5 separate regions of the Homo sapiens genome follow, and all the other regions are linked to region 1. The links are contacts of gene promoters, found by promoter capture Hi-C in blood cells and fetal thymus (Javierre and others, 2016). All regions are on one chromosome and are shown on one strand. The core of a region is centred on a gene start or on the middle of the fragment in contact, and the rest is flanking DNA. Distances in the headings are between cores, read along the strand shown.

Region 1 (4,080 bases), core at 1,171-3,670:
TGCAGGACCTGTATCAGTTCTGGCCTCTAAGTGACCCCCCTTTCCCCACTCTTCCTCCTCCTCCAGGTTCCCTGCTAGCCCAGTTCTTCTCCTGTGTATCTTGTTGGGATCTTCGTGGCTCCCTGCTGTCCCTGCGGGAGGGTCAGGCACTGCCTGTGGCAGGGGGCCTGCCTTCTAATCTCTGGGAGGGTCTGCGCCTTGGCCCCCTGAATCTCCAGGACCCTTTTGACCTGAGTCACAATGTCGCAGCCAATGTGACCAGCCGGGTGGCTGGGCGCCTACAGAACTGCTGCCGAGCAGCAGCCAATTACTGCCGAAGCCTCCAGTACCAGCGCCGTTCCTCCCGGGGTCGGGACTGGGGGCTGCTCCCTCTTCTGCAGCCCAGCTCCCCCAGCTCCCTGCTCTCTGCTACGCCGATCCCTTTACCCCTTGCACCCTTCACCCAGCTCACTGCTGCCCTGGTGCAGGTATTCAGGGAAGCACTGGGGTGCCATATAGAACAGGCAACCAAGAGAACGCGGTCAGAAGGAGGTGGAACTGGGGAGTCCTCTCAGGGAGGGACAAGCAAAAGACTCAAAGTAGATGGACAGAAAAACTGCTGTGAGGAGGGGAAAGAGGAGCAGCAGGGATGTGCAGGGGACGGTGGGGAAGACAGGGTAGAAGAGATGGTTATAGAGGTTGGAGAGATGGTGCAGGACTGGGCCATGCAGAGCCCTGGGCAGCCAGGGGACCTGCCCCTGACCACTGGAAAGCATGGAGCCCCTGGAGAAGAGGGGCAGCCCAGCCACGCAGCCCTGGCAGAGCGGGGGCCCAAGGGACATGAGGCAGCCCAAGAATGGTCTCAGGGTGAGGCAGGGAAGGGGGCATCCCTGCCCTCCTCAGCGAGCTGGCGCTGTGCCTTGTGGCACCGAGTGTGGCAAGGGCGGCGGCGAGCCCGTAGACGCTTGCAGCAGCAAACCAAGGAGGGAGCTGGAGGTGGCGCTGGCACAAGAGCAGGGTGGCTGGCGACTGAGGCTCAGGTCACCCAGGAGCTGAAAGGACTGAGTGGTGGCGAAGAGAGGCCAGAAACTGAGCCCCTGCTGAGCTTTGTGGCGTCTGTCTCCCCGGCTGACCGAATGCTCACTGTGACCCCGCTCCAGGATCCCCAAGGCCTGTTCCCTGATCTCCATCATTTCTTACAGGTTTTCCTCCCTCAAGCAATTCGACATCTCAAGTGAAGACATGGCCCCTGAAGGGCAATAAAGCTGCTAGTTTATTAATACAGTCTCCCGTTTCCTTTCATTTCCATCTGGTCATAATCCCCCTTCCCCTCCCCCAGAACTTCCTGCAGCTGCTCCCGTCTGACCCCGAACATGGGTCTCTCCCTGTTGCTCTCCACCCCACCAGCTTCTCCTTCCTACAGTTCGCACAGCTCGAGGGGAGTGCGGGGGCAGCACCGCGCGTGGCACCTGGCACCCGCGCAGAGTTCCTGAATGGCAGAGCGGTGGGTGGCTCCAGCAGTACTGAGAAGAGCCAGGTTTGCCTCCACATTCTTCCTGTCGCCTCAGATTTATGCGCACAAGGACGGAGATTTGCGTTCAGCGTTCTTCATTCTCTCCTTTAAACGAGGAGAGTTCATCCCGTTCTTAAACTGGGTAAGAGATTTCAAACCTGAACATGGGTCAAAAGCCATGAACATCAGAAGCGACGATGTCAGGTCTTCCAGCGTCAGCCCCTCCAGGGGCCGAGTCCGGAGGAGGTGGGAGGGACAGGGCGCGTTCTCCCTCATGTCCCTGCCCTGCTTCGGGCCGGAGGGCCGGTGCCCTGCTCGCAGTAACAGCACCCTGGAGCTGTCAGGGGTTGGATGTGAGCAAACCTCACTTTGGCAGGCGGGTTCAGACCGGGGCCCCTGTTAGACGCTCATCCCTTTCTGGAGGAAAAGCAGAGCAGGAACTAAAGGGATTTAGCACACACACTGCCACCTCCGCGCAGCAGCTGTTCCTCGCTCCCATGAGTTTCATAGAATCATGTGAGGGGCTTGGCAAAATCTACCATCAAGTCACTTGTCCCTGGGAGGGCCAGAGAGGGACGCCCCCAGTAGCACTGGCCGCGCCGGGCCAACAACCGCGCCACGTAGCCAAGAACTCGCGGCTTTTCCAGCGGGTTCTCACAACTTCCCCGCCCTCCACGCTGTCTACCTCCACGTCTAGACTCCGATTGGCCCGCTGCACCTGGGGGGCGGGCCAGTCAAGAGCTCCAATGCGCAGGCCCGAGCTTTTTCCGCGCTGGCCAGCAGGCCCCACCCACCCAGTTCTTTTTCCAATTCAGCGCCACTGGATACCGAACTGTCGTACGTATGTCTTCTGTTTCGTCCTCGCTTTCCGGCTGCTGTTTCTCCACGGCTCTCCTCTTTCCCCCTCCCTTCTCTCCCGGGCGGCTTACTTTGCGGCAGCGCCGAGAACCCCACCCCCTTTCTTTGCGGAATCACCATGGCGGCTGGGGTAAGTTTGCTGGCTCTGGTGGTTCGGGTCATCCTATCCACCGCCATCCTTTGCCCGAGTGGGGCCAGTCGGCGCCAGAGGAGTTCTGAGGTTGAGTGGGGAACTGATTCGGGGGTCTACAGACTGTACTGCTGGAGAGTAGGGTTCCTAGGGCCTGGAGGGGAACTGAGGCTGGGGCTCTCGGAGGCCAGAGGTGGAAGGGTCTGGGGAAGAGGAGAAAAGAGATGCCGGGTCTGGGCCGTCCGAAGCCTGAGAAAGGGGTTCGGCTCTGTTGCCGCTTTGAGGCGTGGTATCTGGGCAGGTTGACGAACTTCTGTGTCCGTTTTGTGGAGTAACACAGGGGACAGGTTGAAGAGGAGGGTCTTTGTAGGCAGGTCCGGCTGGCACGGTTAAAGGTCGTCTCTCAGGGAGGTTTGGGAGCGAGAGGATTCTCCGGACAGTGAAGTCAGACCAATTGGACTCCGCTGGCCGGCATAATAGAGAAGCCCAACGCCGGGGAACTCGCTGCGGGACAGGACCGGAGGGATGATATTCGCGACACGGAAAGAAAGGCTTTTTGAGAGAGAGGAGTTGATTTAAGAAGACGGCATGCCATCCCCTATCTCTGGCTAGTCTGAGGGGAACTAGAAATCTCTCGATCGTCGTGCGTGCCTTAGAGACAGGACGATGCTTTTGAAGCGGTGAGCAGCTGAGCAGTAGAGTAGGCAGGCGCTCGGAACCATCAATGAATGAAGCGAGGGCTCCGGGAAGGGAGGAGAGTATGTTTGTAGGCAGATGGAGTCTGATGGAGCTAGAAGTTCTGGATTTCTTGGAGATAGATTTGAGAGGAAGAGAATACTTCCAGAGGTGTCCTTAGGGAAGGTCAAATCTGTCAACAAGCTTTATTTAGCAGTTGGTGTGTAGTTCTGTTCTTGGTATTTCGGAGGATTCTGATTACATATGACAAGTACTAAAGGACTTGGTTCACCAGAGGAAGTAAAAGGGTGAGTTGAATACATTGGGATTATTCAGGAAAGTCATCCTGGAGAGTGGCATTAAGGACTGGGACCCTTCTACTCATTAATTTTGTCCCTCTCTTTCTCCCATAGACCCTGTACACGTATCCTGAAAACTGGAGGGCCTTCAAGGCTCTCATCGCTGCTCAGTACAGCGGGGCTCAGGTCCGCGTGCTCTCCGCACCACCCCACTTCCATTTTGGCCAAACCAACCGCACCCCTGAATTTCTCCGCAAATTTCCTGCCGGCAAGGTGAGTTGGGAGATGGGGAGCATCCTTCGGTTCTGAGAAACCAAGGCCCTGCGATTCTGTCACTCTGGTGGTGGCCCCCATCTCTAAAAGGGAGCTTCCCATGTTGTTTTATTCAATTTCGGTGATTTTATTTTGAGATAAATACAGATTTACATGTAGTTGTGAAAAAAAATACAGAGCTATTCTGTGACTTTATAAAATTCACGAGTTTACTTTGTGGGAAAGAGAATGAGTTTTGACTAAGCATTTTCAGTGCAAATATATCAGATATCTGTTATGAGCAGAATTCTTACCCCAAGGGGTTTATAGAGATAGGTGAAGAAACATGCTAAGAATGGAGGAGATGAAGTGCT
Region 2 (4,297 bases), core at 834-3,333, 210 kb before region 1:
CCCCGCTGCAGAGGGAAGGTAGTCAGCCCCAGCCAGGCTTCCCTCCCTCTCCCATTACCTAATTGTAGTGTTCAAGGAGATGATGGAGTTGCAGAGAGACCTGGTGCCAAATCGAAGGATACAGGCAGACACCAAGACCAGGAAGACGGCTATAGCTGAGATGGCCAGTGCAATGCGCAGCCCTATAGCACCTCTGAAAGGGAGAGAACAAGCCTTGTGGTGGAGGTGAGGCTCATCCTACCTCAGCCCCTGGCCCTCAGGGTTAGGCAGTCACCTGTGGGAGTCCTCGATGCAGCTGCTGTAGATCCAGAAGAGCAAAAGCAGGAGGCAGTAGAGGGCCAAGAGGCCAGAGGCCCCAGCTACAAAGTAGCACAGGGATGGTGCTGAGGGACGGGATAAGGCCAGGGAGGAGCCATTCAGGGTGGCCACACCATACAGGGGACATCTACCACTGAAGGAGCCCTGTGGAGAGAAGCTGCTGAGTCCTAGATTTCAGGTTAATGTCTCTAGATACAGTCTCTTGGTAGGGTGTTAGTGATAACTTAGGAATGGTCCTGCATTCCAGGAAGTTATTTGTGCACCGTCAATTCCTATTTCTGGGACAGGGATATTGATGGAGAGGGCCTGCTGGGGAATCACACCGGCAGTGGCCAGAAGGATCAGAAAATAGGCAATGAATATAGAATGCAATGAGCTTCAGAGAAGCCTCACAAGTTATGGTCTCTGTGCAGAAACCTTAGAGTAAACCCAGGCCTTGTATATCCTTCAACAAATAACTATCTGTGAGGTGCTTTTTTTTTTTTTTTTTGCTGGAGTGCAGTGGCGCCATCTCGGCTCACTGCACGCTCTGCCTTCTGGGTTCATGCCATTCTCCTGCCTCAGCCTCCTGAGTAGCTGGGACTACAGGCACCCGCCACCATGCCTGGCTAATTGTTTGTATTTTTAGTAGAGACAGGGTTTCACCGTGTTGGCCAGGATGGTCTTGATCTCCTGACCTCGTGATCCGCCTGCCACGGCCTCCCAAAGTGCTGGGATTACAGGCGTGAGCCACCAGGCCCGGCCAGTGTTTTTGTTTTTGTTTTTGCGATGGAGATTCGCTCGTCACCCAGGCTGGAGTGCAATGGCACGATCTCGACTCACTGCAACCTCCGCCTCCCAGGTTCAAGCGATTCTCCTGCCTCAGCCTCCGAAGTAGCTGGGATTACAGGCATGAGCCACCACACCCGGCTAATTTTTGTATTTTTAGTAGAGACAGAGTTTTGCCATGTTGGCCAGGCTGGTCTCGAACTCCTGACCTCAAGTGATCCGCCTGCCTCAGCCTCCCAAAGTGCTGGGATTACAGGCGTGAGTCACCGCGCCCGGCGGATCTCTGAGGTTTTCTCATGGTGTAAAATAGGCACACTAGTGCCTACTTTATAGGCATTAAATGAACCCATGTTTATTAACCAGATTACCTGGCTGGGGTAAACGATGTAAATTATTGGCTTCTACCTTTACGTCAGCGTTTTCTCCATCTCTCATTTTGTCATTTAACACACTGTGCTACAATCATGTGGCAGCTTGATCATCTCCACTACACTATGCTTTATTTCTCGACAAAGCTCAGCACAAATGGCTTCTGATTTAACGGATGGACGCAGGTTCTGCACTGACTTCTGTTTCGGAACCACAGTAAGGCTGTGCAGCAGGAGCCACGAAACCCGACTCCACCTAGTGCTTTAAGACGCTACTGACCCGTCCCTTTGGCGAGGGGACAACTTCGAAGTATGACCTGGCCAGGAGGAGCCACAAAGCGCGATTAGCCTCGCTGCATTTCAGGTACAGGCCGGCGCCAGCCGTGCCTCACCAGGTCCACCGGCTCCGAGCAGCAGCAAGCCCGGTCGGAAAGCGAAAGTGGCCTCGCCATGTCCAGACCGGCCAGCTCCCCCGCCTACCTGACCCCGCCCCGCAGCCGCACCTGGGTCCGAGTCATCGCCGCGGCCGCCACGGCCCCGCACAGGAAGGCGGCAGCAAAGAGCGCAAGCTCGACGCGCTGCAGCCAGGACAGCGCCATGGCGCCCTGACCACCAGGAAGCGCCGCTGCAGCAGCACCCCGCCCAAAGCCCACCTTATCCGGCGCGACCCACGAAGGTGGAGACGTCATTTCCGGGGGCGGGATTTATTTACAAGGAACGAAGGGGCCACTGACTCAGAGCGGCAAGTACAGCGAGTAGTCCGAGAGCGCCCACCGGCGGGCGGGGCGGCTGGTACGGCCGATCATGGGCAGTTTCTGCACGTAGCGCGAGGCCGGGCTAGGCCCGTACGGCGCGGGGAAGGCAGTCTGGAAAAGGCGCCCGCGGCAGCGCCTCCCAGCCTGCCGCCCGGCTATGATGAAACGAAAGTGCGGGGCGCCGCGCGGGGCGAAACGGCTCTTCTGGAAAACGTCGCGGGTGCCGGTCCCGGGGCCCTGCTGCCGGGGTGCCCCGCGCGCCCGATGCACGCGCGGCAAGGGCCTGCTCTCAGAGGCGGCGGGCCCAGAGGCCGACGCGGGGCCGCCTCCGCCGCTGCCCCGGGGGCTCTCGTCGCCGTGCGGGCTGACTATGGCGCTTGCCGTCAGCTGCGGCATCTTCCGCACCGAGTCCGGGGCTGCCGCCGGCTCCTTCTTGTCCCCGGGCGGCCGCGGAGCCGTGGGTGCAGGCTGGCCGGTGCCAAAGCGTGTGGCCAAGCTGTCACCGAAGAAGGCGTAGAGCTCCCGGTAGATGTCGGCCAGGGTCACCGAAAGAGAAGGGTCCTCCGGCCCCGCGCCCCCTGGCGGCAGCGGGAGGCCGGACCCAAAGCTGGGTTCTGCACCGCCCCCGGAGGACGACTCTTGAAAGAGAAGGCTGTCCCATGGCAGGTCGTCCAGGCGCCGGCACCCCCTGCCACCTGGGCCACCCCTGTTGGGCTCTGCTGCCTGGGCCTTCATCTTCAGCAGTCGCTCTACCGCCACCTGTAAGAGCCAAGGACTAAGATAGGCAAAAAATTCGAGGAACCTGGGCCCATCAAATATTCCAAAGTAAGCCTGCTTGGCTGCTAAGCTCATGCAGGGAAGGGAGGCTGGAAGGGGACGGTACTCACCAGAATGGCTCCATAGACTTTGTGTCCATCTGCTTTGACCTGGGCATTAGATACTGAATAATCATCCAGCACAGCCTGCAAGTTTGTCCAGTAGGTGGACAGGTGTGGGTACAGGACTCGTTCTACTGCCTGGAAGGAAGAGAAGGAATACAGTTAGCATGTCTTTGATACTTATTCCCTCTCAAGGACCCTTTCCCATGAAAGACCTACCTTTATCTCTGATCCTAGACAGGGCTCAATCCTCCTAAATTCCCTGATTGGCATATTCAACCATATATTTATTTGGAACCTACTGTATACCTAAGCTAGGCATTGGGAATAAAGATAAGGTACAAAGGGAGACAATAAAAAATATACCCAATATCACTGCCCTGTGTGCTAAATAATGCTCATTACTGACAACTCCAAAATTTAGTTTGCATACTGCTACCCTATACAATCAGGCAAGTACTGGCTTCACTTAGATGTAAACTGAGACTCAGTTCAAACAATCTGCATAAAAACAACCAACCAGAGACTTGGACTCTGATTATACAATTTAAAATCCTGTGATTGGACAGGCGCTGTGGCTCACGCCTGTAATCCCAGCACTTTGGGAGGCCGAGGCCAGTGGATCACCTGAGGTCAGGAGTTCAAGACCAGCTTGGCCAAGATGGTGAAACCCCATCTCTACTAAAAATACAAAAATTAGCTGGGCGCAGTAGCAGTTGCCTGTAATCTCAACTACTTGGGAGGCTGAGGCAGGAGAATCACTTGAACTCGGGGGGCAGAGGTTGCAGTGAGCCGAGATCACACCACCGCACTCCACCCTGGGAAGCAAAGTGAGACTCCGTCTCAAAAAAAAAAAAAAGAATTAACTATAAGGAAAATACCAGCTGGGCCTATAAGGAAAATACCAGCCGGGCGCTGTGGCTCACGCCTGTAATCCCAGCACTTTGGGAGGCCAAGGCAGGCGGATCAGGAGGTCAGGAGTTCGAGACGAGCCCTGGCCAGCACAGTGAAACCCCGTCTCTACTAAAAATACAAAAAATTAGCCAGGTATGGTGGTGAGCGCCTGTAATCCCAGCTACTCGGGAGGCTGAAGCAGGAGAATCGCTTGAACCCAGGAGGCAGAGGTTGCAGTGAGCCGAGGTCGCGCCATTGCACTCCAGCCTGGGTGACAGTGTGAGACTCTGTCTCGAAAAAAAAAAAAAGGAAAGAA
Region 3 (3,997 bases), core at 465-2,964, 190 kb before region 1:
CTCCACCTCCCAGGTTCAAATGATTCTCCTGCCTCAACCTCCCAAGTAGCTGGGATTACAGGCACTTGCCACTACCACCAGCTAATTTTTGTGTTTTTAGTAGAGACAGGGTTTTCACCATGTTGGCTAGGCTGGTCTCCAACTCCTGACCTTGTGATCCACCCGCCTCTGCCTCCCAAAGTGCTGGGATTACAGGCATGAGCCACTGTGCCTGGTCAAAGTCAGACTGTTTTTATTCATTTATTTTTATTTTTATTTATTTTTTGAAACTGAGTCTCGCTCTGTCGCCCAGGTTGGAGTGCAGTGGCGTGATAGCTCACTGCAACCTCTGCCCTCCCAGTTTCAAGTGATTCTCCTGCCTTAGCCTCTGGAGGAGCTGGGATTACAGGTGTCCGACACCATGCCTGGCTAAGTGCTGTAAGTTTTGTATTTTTAGTAAAGATGGGGTTTCGCCATGTTGGCCAGGCTGGTCTTCAACTCCTGACCTTGTGATCCGCCCGCCTCAGCTTCCCGAAGTGCTGGGATTACAGGCATGAGCCACCATGCCCGGCCAATTTTTTTTTTTTTTTTTTTTTGAGACAGAGTCCTTGCTCTGTTGCTAAGGCTAGAATGCAGTGGAGCAATCTCAGCTTACTGCAACCTCCACCTCCCCGGTTCAAGCGATTCTTGTGCCTCAGCCTCCTGAGTAGCTGGGATTACAGGCACGCACCACCATACCTGGCTAATTGTCGTATTTTTAGTAGAGACTGGGTTTTGCCATGTTGGCTAGGCTGTTCTCAAACTCCTGACCTCAAGTGATCCGCGCACCTCGGCCTCTCAAAGTGCTGGGATTACAGGCATGAGCCACCACAACAAGCCCAGACTGTTTTTAAAAAATCACAGCTCACCAGCTGTGTGACCTTAGGCATATTAGTTCACCTGTCTGACCTGTCTCATCAACTATAAAGCGGGATAACGAAATCTACTCCATGGAACTGTTGTGAAGATTCAGAAAAGTGTGTAAAGGATTTAGCATGTTGCCAAGCACATGGTACTCTATTAGCCTGTGACCGCTTTAGGAGGCTGTAACTTTCAGAATCCCTTAGTACCAACCTTAAAAGCTCAGAAGAGGCGGGGCGCGGCGGCTCATGCCTGTAATCCCAGCACTTTGGGAGGCCGAGGCGGGCAGATCACCTGAGGTCAGGAGTTTGAGACCAGCCTGATCAACATGGAGATACCTTGTCTCTACTAAAAATACAAAATTAGTTGGGCGTGGTGGCACATGCCTGTAATCCCAGCTACTTGGGAGGCTGAGGCAGGAGAATCCCTTGAACCCAGGAGGCGGAGGTTTCGGTGAGCCAAGATCGTACCATTGCACTCCAGCCTGGGCGACAGAGTGAGACTCTGTCTCAAAAAAAAAAAAAAAAAAAAGCTCAGAAGAGTTCTGGAAACCATCTCCAGGGCATCCCCACTTGTTCCCTTCCCCACTAGAGTGCCAGGCTTTTTTTTTTTCCTTTTTTTTTTTAATTAGTGCCAGCCTTTTCGATGCCACACCCTACATCCTCACCAGCACCCACATGCTCAGGATCCATGAGCTGCTTCTCTGTCCATCAATTTCTTCCTTTCAGGCTTGGTGTTATTCCCCTATTTGAGAACTTAGGAAGAACTCCAGGACTCCAGTGATCCTCCCACCTCAGCCTCCTAAGTACCTGAGACTACAGATACACACCACTGCACTGGCTTTGGGATGCATTATATAATAATTATGATAATTAAAAGTTGAGTGCCCATCATGGACCAGGCTCTATGCCAGCCACTTGAACATATGATGTCTGATACAGCAGCCTCCAAAGAGGGTTTTCTGCCCATTTTATAATGAGGAAACAGAAGGTCATCCAGCTAAGACTCTTTTCTTTTCTTTTTTTTTTTTTTTGAGATGGAGTCTCACTCTGAAGCCCAAGCTGGAGTGCAGTGGAGGGATCTCAGCTCACTGCAACCTCCCCCTCCCGGGTTCAAGCAATTTACCTGCCTCATCTCTTATCCTCTTGAGTCCAGCTAAGACTTAAACCAGCTCTGTATCAATCCAAATACCATGCTTTCTTGTTTTCTGCCACAGAGCTCTGTTTCCCAGGGAAGTCAAAGAAAGTTAAAGAAAAAATAATAATAATAATTGAAATGAGATTTCATAGATTAGTAGATAGGAAATGGACAAGCTGGGAAAGGGCATTCCAAGGTAGACAAAATAGTATTGCAGAGGTATAGTGCCAGGGAAAATTGGCATGTTTCTTTAATCCTGTAGGCATTTCATACATTTTTTGTCACCCTAACTAGATTGTGAGCCCTTTTACATCTTCAGTTCAGTTTAGTATAGTGATATACTATTGTTTATATACCCAACTTAGGAAAGGCTGTGTTGAGATCCTACAGTCTGTGTCATTACTAGCCTCTTATTCATCTCTCCCTGTCTGCTGTCTCCTCTCCCTTCTTTCCCAGCTATGCTCTTGGTTACTTTTAAGGGCAGGAGAAGAGCAAACACTCTGGAACTAGATCAGGACCCAGAATGCCACTAATGATGGTATCATTTGCTGGAAGCCAAAGACCCAACATCAGAGCCTTGACTTCAGTGAGGTCACCTTTAAACCTGGACAAATGGGTTAGTCAGTTCCCCTGGGTGGCTGAGGCTAGTAGAGGCATCAGTCTAAGAAAAAGAGGGGCTAGTAAGCAGCCAACTCCACAGCCTCTTTAAAGAGTTATTGTTCCTGCTAAAAAAAAAAAAAGAAGATAACACTTCCATGAGAACCAAGGACTTTTTATACTTAGAACACATACTGAAAAATGAGGAGGCAGTAGTTAAGCTACAAGAAGCACCAGATGCCTTCTGGGATGAGTTGCCTTCCTTGCCTCCACAACAGCAGCCAGACTGGACCTCTGGACAACATGATAAGTGTGACAATCACACTTCCTAGAGTAGGACCAAGGGTAGGAGGCCACCAGGCTCAGCTTACAAGCCCTGCGAAACCAGAAAAAGCATATCAGTTAGAACCGGAATTTAGGGTAGCCACAACCATGTACTCCTCATCCCAAGGCAAATGTCCTGGATCTTTCAAGCAGACAGCATGAAAGTTTCTTCTGTCTCTCTGATTTGGGCATTGAATCCTATATTACTCCCCACCCCCACACATCCCTTCTCCAGGCAATAACCCCAGCACCTATGATCAGGCACTCACCCAAGTAATCGTCCATCAGGGAGCCAATAGCAAACTGCAAGAAAGATGGTAAAAAGAAAGTGAAGCCAAGATGAGCACAGAACCAACCTCCACCCTGCAGCCCCAGGCCTTCTGCCCATCCATCCCTTCTTCCTGGCAGAAGAGCACAGAACCCCCTGAAACTGTGGGTGGTAAGAAATCGACAGCTCTCGGCCAGGCGCGGTGGCTCACACCTGTAATCCCAGCACTTTGGGAGGCCGAGTCGGGTGGATCATTAGGTCAGGAGATCGAGACCATCCTGGCTAACATGGTGAAACCCTGTCTGTACTAAAAATATAAAAAATTAGCCAGGTGTGGTGGCGGGCGCCTGTAGTCCCAGCTACTCGGGAGGCTGAGGCAGGAGAATGGCATGAACCCGGGAGGCAGAGCTTGCAGTGAGCCGAGATCGCGCCACTGCACTCCAGCCTGGGTGACAGAGCAAGACTCCGTCTCAAAAAAAAAAAAAAAAGAAAAAAGAAATCGACAGTTCTCAGCTCAACCTGGTATAGGTAGAGAGGTGGGGAAAAGACTCACAATGTCATTCTTGTCCACACGGGTCCCCACAATCTTTAAGCGGATCTCATCGTCCTGCTGAATCACAATATCCTGAGGAGAGGAGGGAACAGTGTACAGATGCTCCTCAGTTTATGAGAAGTTACATCACAATCACTTCACTGTAAGCCCGGGGGCATATTGAATGCACATCACTTTCACACCATCGTAAAGTCATAAAATCATGAATCAAGCCATGGTAATTCGGGGACCATCTGTAC
Region 4 (4,222 bases), core at 407-2,906, 170 kb before region 1:
TACTACTTAGCTAAAGAGGTTCTGTTCCTGGTGAGATTCTCCTGAGAAGCAAGCATTTGCTTTCAATATCCAGCATAAAGGGCATGTTTTCTTGCAGGTGGCAGTCAGGAATTTGCAATATTTTAATTAATTAATTTATTTATTTATTTTGAGACAAGGTCTCTCTGTTTCCGAGGCTGGAGTGCAGTGGCACTATCACGACTCACTGCAGCCTCAACCCCTCTAGCTCCCAAGCAGCTGGAACTACAGGCATGCACTATCACGCATGGCTAATTTTTGTATCTTTTGTGGAGATGACGTTTCGCGCTGTTGCTCAGGCTGGTCTCAAACTCCTGGGCTCAAGCGATCCACCTGCCTTGGCCTCCCAAAGTGCTGGGATTTCAGGCATGAGCCATCATGCCCAGCCTGCAAGATATGTAAAGCAGTAGCTATCACAGTTACAGCCACTGTGGCCTCGTTATTATTACTATTTTTTGACGGAATTTCACTCTTGTTGCCCAGGCCAGAGTACAATGGCATGATCTTGGCTCAGTGCAATCTCGGCTCACTGCAACCTCCGCCTCCTGGGTTCAAGCGATTCTCCTGCCTCAGCCTCCCTAGTAGCTGGAATTACAGGCTGCGCCACCACGCCTGGTTAATTTTTTTTGTATTTTTAGTAGAGACGGGGTTTCTCCATGTTGGTCAGGCTGGTCTGGAACTCCCGACCTCAGATCCGCCCCGCCTCGGCCTCCCAAAGTGCTGGCATTATAGGTGTGAACCACCGCACCCAGCCTCATTTTATTTATTATTTTTTTTTTAGTTTGATTTTTTTTTTAGACAGAGTCTCCCTCTGTCACCCAGGCTGGAGTGCAGCGGTGGCTGGGATTACAGGAATAAGCCACCATACCCAGCCTGTGGCCTCAGTTTATCTACTGAATGGTAGGAACAGTTTATGCCCATTTGTAGAGATGTGATCAATAATTCTTTCTCATTTCCACTGGTCTTAATGCTCCCATTCAGGGATTCAAGGAACCATAGGCTCCTGGGGATCAGCTCATCTAATTTCTAGTCTAACACTGAATCCTCCTTTTGCCAGTTGTTATCAAACCTCCACTTGAGGCCGGGAATGGCACCTCACACCTAGAATTCCAGCACTCTGGGAGGCCGAGGTGGACAGATTATTGGGAGGTCAGGAGTTCAAGACCAGCCTGGCCAAGATGGTGAAACCCTGTCTCTACTAAAAATACAAAAATTAGGCAGGCATGTCAGTGTGCACACACCTGTGGTCCCAGCTAATTGCTTGGCGGCCAAGCCAGGAGAATTGCTTGAACCTGGGAGGCAGAGGTTGTAGCAAGCCAAGATCACACCACTGCATTCCAGCCTGGGGAACAGAGCGAGACTCCATCTCAAAAAACAAAAAACAAACAAAAAAAAAACAACCAGGCCAGGCACGGTGGCTCACACCTGTAATCCCAGCACTTTGGGAGGCTCAGTCTGGTGGATCACAAGGTCAGGAGTTCAAGACCAGCCTGGCCAAGATGGTGAAACCTCATCTCTACTAAAAATACAAAAATTAGCCGGGAGTGCTGGCGGGCACCTGTAATCCTAGCTACTCAGGAGGCTGGGGCAGGAGAATCGCTTGAACCTGCGAGGCGGAGGTTGCAGTGAGCTGAGATCGTGCCACTGTACTCAAGCCTGGGCTACAGAGCGAGACTCTGTCTCAAAAAAAAAAAAAAAAACCTCGGCCTGGCGTGGTGGCTCACGCCTGTAATCCCAGCACTTTGGGAGGCCGAGGCAGGCGGATCACAAGGTCAGGAGATCGAGACAATCCTGGCTAACACGGTGAAACCCCGTCTCTACTAAAAATGCAAAAAGTTAGCCAGGCGTGGTGGCGGGAGCCTGTAGTCCCAGCTACTCAGGAGGCTGAGGCAGGAGAATGGAGTGAACCTGGGAGGCGGAGCTTGCAGTGAGCCGAGATCACGCCACTGCACTCCAGTCTGGGCGACAGAGCGAGACTCTGTCTCAAAAAAAAAAAAAAAAAACCCAAAAAACTCTTTCCCAAAGGAAACCTATTGTTGGTGTCCTAGTTGTTGGATTTCCTTAGACTGAGCCAAAATCTGTCTCCCTTTATAGGAGTATGGACCAGGCCCCAGCCTATTAAGTTTCATACTGAAAATGTGTGCTTGTGAGCTATAAACTGACTTAGTTTTCTTTTTTCTTTTCTTTTTTTTTTTTTTTTTGAGACGGAGTCTAGCTCCGTAGCCCAGGCTGGAGTGCAGGGGCGTGATCTCGGCTCACTGTAAGCTCCGCCTCCTGAGTTCACGCCATTCTCCTGCCTCAGCTTCCCGAGTAGCTGGGATTACAGGCGTGTGCCACCACGCCTGACTAATTTTTTGTATTTTTTGTAGAGACGGGGTTTCACCGTGTTAGCCAGGATGGTCTCGATCTCCTGATCTCGTGATCTGCCCGCCTTGGCCTCCCAAAGTGCTGGGATTACAGGCGTGAGCCACCGCACCCGGCCACTTATTTTAGTTTTTCGAGATGGGGTCTATGTTGCCCAGGGTGCTCTTGAACTCCTAGGCTCAAGTGATTCTCCCACTTCAGACTCCTGAGTTTTTTTGTGTATTGGGTCAAGTGATATGAAGTGCTGTACAGTGCCCTGTACAATTTCATCAGCAAGCAATTTCAGCAGACTAAATACTATTATCACACTCAAGAAAACTGACAATAATTCTTTTTTTTTTTTTTTTTTTGAGACAGAGTCTTGCTCGGTCGCCCAGGCTGGAGTGCAGTGGTGTGATCTCGGCTCACTGCAAGCTCTGCCTCCCGGGCTCACACCATTCTCCTGCCTCAGCCTCCCAAGTAGCTGGGACTACAGGCGCCCGCCACCACGCCTAGCTCATTTTTTTTCTATTTTTAGTAGAGACGGTGTTTCACTGTGTTAGCCAGGATGGTCTGGATCTTCTGACCTCGTGATCCACCCGCCTCGGCCTCCCAAAGTGTTGGGATTACAGGCGTAAGCCAACGCACCCGGCCTTTTTTTTTTTTTTTTAGATAAGAGTTTTGCTCTTGCCCAGGCTGGAGTGCAGTTGCGCCATCTCGGCTCACCGCAACCTCCACCTCCCGGGTTCAAGCGATTCTCCTGCCTCAGTCTCCCGAGTAGCTGGAATTACAGGCGTCCGCCAACACATCCCGCTAATTCTGTATTTTCAGTACAGTCAGGGTTACACCGTGTTAGCCAGGATGGTCTCGATCTCTTGACCTTGGAATCCGCCCGCCTCAGCCTCCCAAAGTGCTGGGATTACAGGCATGAGCCACCACCCCTGGCTCCGACAATTATTTATTTATTTATTTATTTTTTGAGATGGAGTCTCGCTCTGTCACCCAGGCTGGAGTGCAGTGGCGCGATCTCGGCTCACTGCAAGCTCTGCCTCCCGGGTTCAAGCCATTCTCCTGCCTCAGCCTCCCAAGTAGCTGGGACTACAGGCGCCCCGCCACCACGCCCGGCTAATTTTTTTGTGTGTATTTTTAGTACAGACGGGGTTTCACCGTGGTCTCCATCTCCTGACCTTGTGATCCGCCCGCCTGGGCCTCCCAAAGTGCTGGGATTACAGGTGTGAGCCACCGCACCCGGCCCTGACAATAATTCTTACTCAAGTTTCTCTTTTTCCCAATGAGAATCCAATTAGAATCCAAAGTAGTGTCATGCATTTATTTGATTGATGTCTCTTAACTGTCTTTTTCTTTTTGAGACAGGGTCTCACTCTGTTGCCCAGGCTTCAGTGCAGTGGCACAATTTTAGCTCACTGCAACCTCAACCTTTTGGGCTCAAGTGATCCTCCCACCTTAGCCTCTTGAATATCTGGGATTACAGGCATGCACCCTAGTGGCAGCTAATTTTTCTATCTTTTGTAGACAGAGGGTTTTGCCATGTTGCCCACATTGGTCTCAAACTCCTGGGCTCAAAAGATCTGTCCCCTTCAGCCTCCCAAAGTTCTAGGATCATTGGCGTGCGCCACTGAACCTGGCCTTAAGTTTTACTAGGTTTCCCTTCCCTTTTTCCTTGCAATTTATTTGTTGAAGAAGCTGGGGTTGTTTTACGGGTTGAGGGTCTGGAGTTTGCTGCTTACATCCCCGTAGTTTCATTTAACATATTCCTCTGTCCAAAGGTTCCTTTAAAAATATTTATTTAGGGCCAGGCAAGGTGCTTCAAGCTGTAATCCCAGCTACTCAAGAGGTTGAT
Region 5 (3,808 bases), core at 836-3,335, 190 kb after region 1:
TCAACTAGAATAACATACCTATCATCTCACAATTACCTTTCTTTATTTTTTTGTGGTAAGAGTACCTAAAATCTACTTTTTAAATTTTTTTGAGATGGAGTCTTGCTCTTTTGCCCAAGCTGAAATGCAGTGGCGCCATCTCAGCTCACAGCAGCCTCTGCCTCCCGGGTTTAAGGAATTCTCTGCTTCAGCCTCCCAAACAGCTGAGATTACAGGCGTGTACCACCACACCCAGCTAATTTTTCTGTATTCTTAGTAGAGATGAAGTTTCACCATCTTGGCCAGGCTGGTCTTGAACTCCTGACCTCATGATCTGCCTGCCTTGGCCTCCCAAAGTGCTGGGATTAAAGGTGTGAGCCACTGCGCCCGGACTTTTTTTTGTTTTTGAGACGGAGTCTTGCACTGTTGCCCAGGCTGGAGTGCAGGGGTGTGATCTTGGCTCACTGCAAGCTGACAAACTACCAATGATGACTTAACTTAGTTATTATTGTGCATACCAGGGTCATTTGTTAATCGGCTGGTGATGGCAGATGAATGGCAAACACACACACACACACACGCACACACGTGCACACACACACATGCACACACACAGATGCATTTAATAAGTTATGTATTTATTCCATTAAAATATTTTTTCTTGGCTTCATTCCAGGGAGTACTGATTTTTTTTTTTTTTTTGAGACCAACTCTTGCCCTGTCGCCCAGGCTGGAGTGCAGTGGTGTGATTTCGGCTCACTGCAACTGGGTTCTAGCAGTTCTCCTGCCTCAGCCTCCTGAGAAGCTGGGACTACAGGTGCACACTGCCAAGCCTGGCTAATTTTTTGTATTTTTTAGTAGAGATGGGGTTTCACCATGTTGCCCAGGCTGGTCATGAACTCCTGAGCTCAGGCAGTCCACCCACCTTGGCCTCCCAAAGTGCTGGGATTACAGGCGTGAGCCACCAAGCCTGGCCTGATGATGTTCTTTTTTTTTTTTTTTTTTTTTTTTTTGAGTAGGAGTCTCGCTCTGTCGCCCAGGCTGGAGTGCAGTGGCGGGATCTCGGCTCACTGCAAGCTCCGCCTCCTGGGTTCACGCCATTCTCCTGCCTCAGCCTCCCGAGTAGCTGGGACTACAGGCGCCCGCCACTACGCCCGGCTAATTTTTTGTATTGTTAGTAGAGACGGGGTTTCACCGTTTTAGCCGGGATGGTCTCGATCTCCTGACCTCGTGATCCGCCCGCCTCGGCCTCCCAAAGTGCTGGGATTACATGCGTGAGCCACCGCGCCCGGCCCCTGATGATGTTCTTATACTTAACGTGACTTCTATTGACAAAATGGCAAAAGACAAGCTTTCTTGAGTCAACATAGTTTTTAGCAAGTTTTTAATTTATTTTAATTTGGAGAAGCTTCCTTCTGCTGAAGCAGCAGCAACTGGAATTACCAACAAAATTCTCAAAGCAGTACTTAGATTTAGAAATGAATACTGATTTTTACATTATCACACTCAAATACTATATGGATTTGTGGGGAAACGAAAGAGATCAGGCTGTTACTGTGTCTATGTAGAAAGAAGTAGACATAAGAGACTCTATTTTGTTCTGTACTAAGAAAAATTCTTCTGCCTTGAGATGCTGTTAATCTGTAACCCTACCCCAACCCTGTGTCGCAGAGACGTGCTGTGTTGACTCAAGGTTTAATGGATTTAGGGCTATGCAGGCTGTGCTTTGTTAAAAAAGTGCTTGAAGGCAGTATGCTTGTTAAAAGTCATTACCATTCTCTAATTTCAAGTACCCAGGGACACAATACACTGCGGAAGGCTGCAGGGACCTCTGCCTAGGAAAGCCAGGTATTGTCCAAGGTTTCTCCCCATGTGATAGCCTGAGATATGGCCTTGTGGGAAGGGAAAGACCTGACCGTCCCCCAGCCCGACACTGTCCCCCAGCCCGACACCCCACCCGTAAAGGGTCTGTGCTGAGGAGCATTAGTAAAAGAGGAAGGCCTCTTTGCAGTTGTGATAAGAGGAAGGCATCTGTCTCCTGCTTGTCCCTGGGCAATAGAATGTCTGGGTTTAAAACCCGATTGTATGTTCTATTTACTGAGATAGGAGAAAACAGCCTTAGGGCTGGAGGTGAGAGGTGCTAGCGACAATACTGCTCTTTAATGTTTGTATACATGCACATCAAGGCATAGCACCTTTCCTTATTTATGACACAGAGACATTTGTTCACATGTTTTCCTGCTGACCCTCTCCTCTCTATTAACTTATTGTCCTGCCACATCCCCCTCTCCAGATGGTAGAGATAATGATCAGTAAATACTGAGGGAACTCAGAGACTGTTGCCGGTGGGGGTCCTCCGTATGCTGAGCACCGGTCCCCTGGGCCCACTTTTTTTTCTCTATACGTTGTCTCTGTCTCTCCTGCCTCAGCCTCCTGAGTAGCTGGGACTACAGGCACCCGCCACTGGGCCCGGCTAATTTTTTGTATTTTTAGTAGAGATGGGGTTTCACCCTGTTAGCCAGGATGGTCTCGATCTCCTGACCTCGTGATCCACCGGCCTCGGCCTCCCAAAGTGCGGGGATTACAGGCGTGACCCACCGCACCCAGCCTCTTATTTCTTTTCTCAGTCTCTCGTCCCACCTGATGAGAAACGCCCACAGGTGTAGAGGGGCTGGCCACCCCTTCATCTGGTGCCCAACGTGGGTGCTTTTCTCTAGGGTGAAGGTGAGCTAGAGCGTGGTCATTGAGAACAAGTTGATGAGAGATTCCCGAGTACGTCTACAGTCAGTCTTGTGGTAAGCTTGTGCCCTCGGAAGAACCTAGGGTAACAATGGGGCAAACTGAAAGTAAATATGCCTCTTATCTCAGCTTTATTAAAATTCTTTTAAAAAGGGGGGAGTTAGAGTCTCTACAAAAAAATCTAATCACGCTATTTCAAACAGTAGAACAATTCTGCCCATGGTTTCTAGAACAGGGAACTTTAGATCTAAAAGATTGGGAAAAAATTGGCAAAGAATTAAAACAAGCAAGTAGGAAGGGTAAAATCATCCCACTTACCGTATGGAATGATTGGGCCATTATTAAAGCAGCTAATTTAGAACTGTTTCAAACAGGAGAAGATAGCGTTTCAGTTGCTGATGCCCCTGAAAGCTGTGTAATAGATTGTGAAGAATAGGCAGGGATAGAATCCCAGAAAGGAATGGAAAGTTCAAAAGTTCACATTGTAAATATGTAGCAGAGTCTGTAATGGCTCGGTCAATGCAAAATGTTGACTACAATCAATTACAGGAGGTAATATATCCTGAAGCATTAGAATTAGAAGAAAAAGGTCCAGAATTAGCGGGGCCATCAGAGTCTAAACCATGATGGCCAACTCCTCTTCCAGCGGTTCAGATGCCTGTAACATTACAACCTCAAATGCAGGTTAGACAAGTACAAACCCCAAGAGAATATCAAATAGAGAGTCTCTGTCATGGCAACGCCAATCCAAATACAGTATCCACAATATCAGCCGGTAGAAAATAAGACCCAACCGCCAGTAGCCTATCAATACTGGCCGCCAGCCGAACTTCAGTATCGGCCGCCCCCAGAAAATCAGTATGGACAGCCAGGAGTGTTTCCAGCACCACAGGGCAGGGCGCTATAGCCTCAGCCGCCCACTATAAGACTTTATCCTACAGCACCACCTAGTGGACAAGGTAGTGCATTACATAAAATTATTGATAAGGCAAGGAAACAAGGAGATATTGAGGCGTGGCAATTCCCAGTACCGATGCCACCTGGAGAAGGGGCCCAAGAAGGAGCGCCTACCCTAGTTGGGGCCAGATAT

Evidence for each region. Contacts are between HindIII fragments. The CHiCAGO score rates a contact against its expected background, and 5 or more counts as called.
Region 2: the fragment with the promoter of TMEM179B here is called in contact with the fragment with the promoter of EEF1G in region 1 in 17 of 17 cell types (monocytes, fetal thymus, activated CD4 T cells and 14 more); the score reaches 44.5 in monocytes.
Region 3: a contact is called between a fragment that was not itself captured here and the fragment with the promoter of EEF1G in region 1, in 5 of 17 cell types (total CD8 T cells, monocytes, neutrophils and 2 more). The highest score is 6.9, in total CD8 T cells.
Region 4: a contact is called between a fragment that was not itself captured here and the fragment with the promoter of EEF1G in region 1, in 3 of 17 cell types (naive B cells, neutrophils and naive CD8 T cells). The highest score is 7.1, in naive B cells.
Region 5: a fragment that was not itself captured here is called in contact with the fragment with the promoter of EEF1G in region 1 in 6 of 17 cell types (erythroblasts, megakaryocytes, M0 macrophages and 3 more); the score reaches 7.0 in erythroblasts.

The regions. Positions count from the first base shown.
Region 1 is chr11:62,572,231-62,576,310 of GRCh38, reverse strand. EEF1G (eukaryotic translation elongation factor 1 gamma) reads left to right here and starts at 2,420. Exons shown (of 10, transcript NM_001404.5): 1 at 2,420-2,480; 2 at 3,569-3,727. The coding sequence starts at 2,469. TUT1 (terminal uridylyl transferase 1, U6 snRNA-specific) reads left to right here. Exons shown (of 9, transcript NM_022830.3): 9 at 67-1,259. The coding sequence ends at 1,217. RefSeq lists enhancers at 373-1,334, 1,492-1,551, 1,335-2,296, 2,252-2,451. The HindIII fragment of the contact is 8,528 bases long and covers 1-3,361 here.
Region 2 is chr11:62,785,188-62,789,484 of GRCh38, reverse strand. It overlaps TMEM179B (transmembrane protein 179B), which reads right to left and starts at 2,083. Exons shown (of 5, transcript NM_199337.3): 1 at 1,958-2,083; 2 at 275-462; 3 at 59-193. The coding sequence starts at 2,053. TAF6L (TATA-box binding protein associated factor 6 like) reads right to left here. Exons shown (of 11, transcript NM_006473.4): 10 at 3,097-3,225; 11 at 2,143-2,968. The coding sequence ends at 2,189. It also overlaps a transcript of TMEM223 not described here. RefSeq lists a silencer at 2,453-2,562 and an enhancer at 2,813-3,012. The HindIII fragment of the contact is 7,473 bases long and covers 1-4,297 here.
Region 3 is chr11:62,765,486-62,769,482 of GRCh38, reverse strand. It overlaps POLR2G (RNA polymerase II subunit G), which reads right to left. Exons shown (of 8, transcript NM_002696.3): 6 at 3,759-3,830; 7 at 3,207-3,240; 8 at 2,773-2,989. The coding sequence ends at 2,976. Among named protein-coding and RNA genes, the nearest start is that of TAF6L, 3.9 kb to the left of the region's middle. The HindIII fragment of the contact is 6,556 bases long and covers 1-3,997 here.
Region 4 is chr11:62,743,719-62,747,940 of GRCh38, reverse strand. No RefSeq gene overlaps it. Among named protein-coding and RNA genes, the nearest start is that of ZBTB3, 8.3 kb to the left of the region's middle. The HindIII fragment of the contact is 8,358 bases long and covers 1-4,222 here.
Region 5 is chr11:62,380,787-62,384,594 of GRCh38, reverse strand. The region is part of intron 4 of ASRGL1 (asparaginase and isoaspartyl peptidase 1); the gene reads right to left. Among named protein-coding and RNA genes, the nearest start is that of SCGB1A1, 36 kb to the left of the region's middle. RefSeq lists enhancers at 1,319-1,884, 1,885-2,450. The HindIII fragment of the contact is 1,392 bases long and covers 1,390-2,781 here.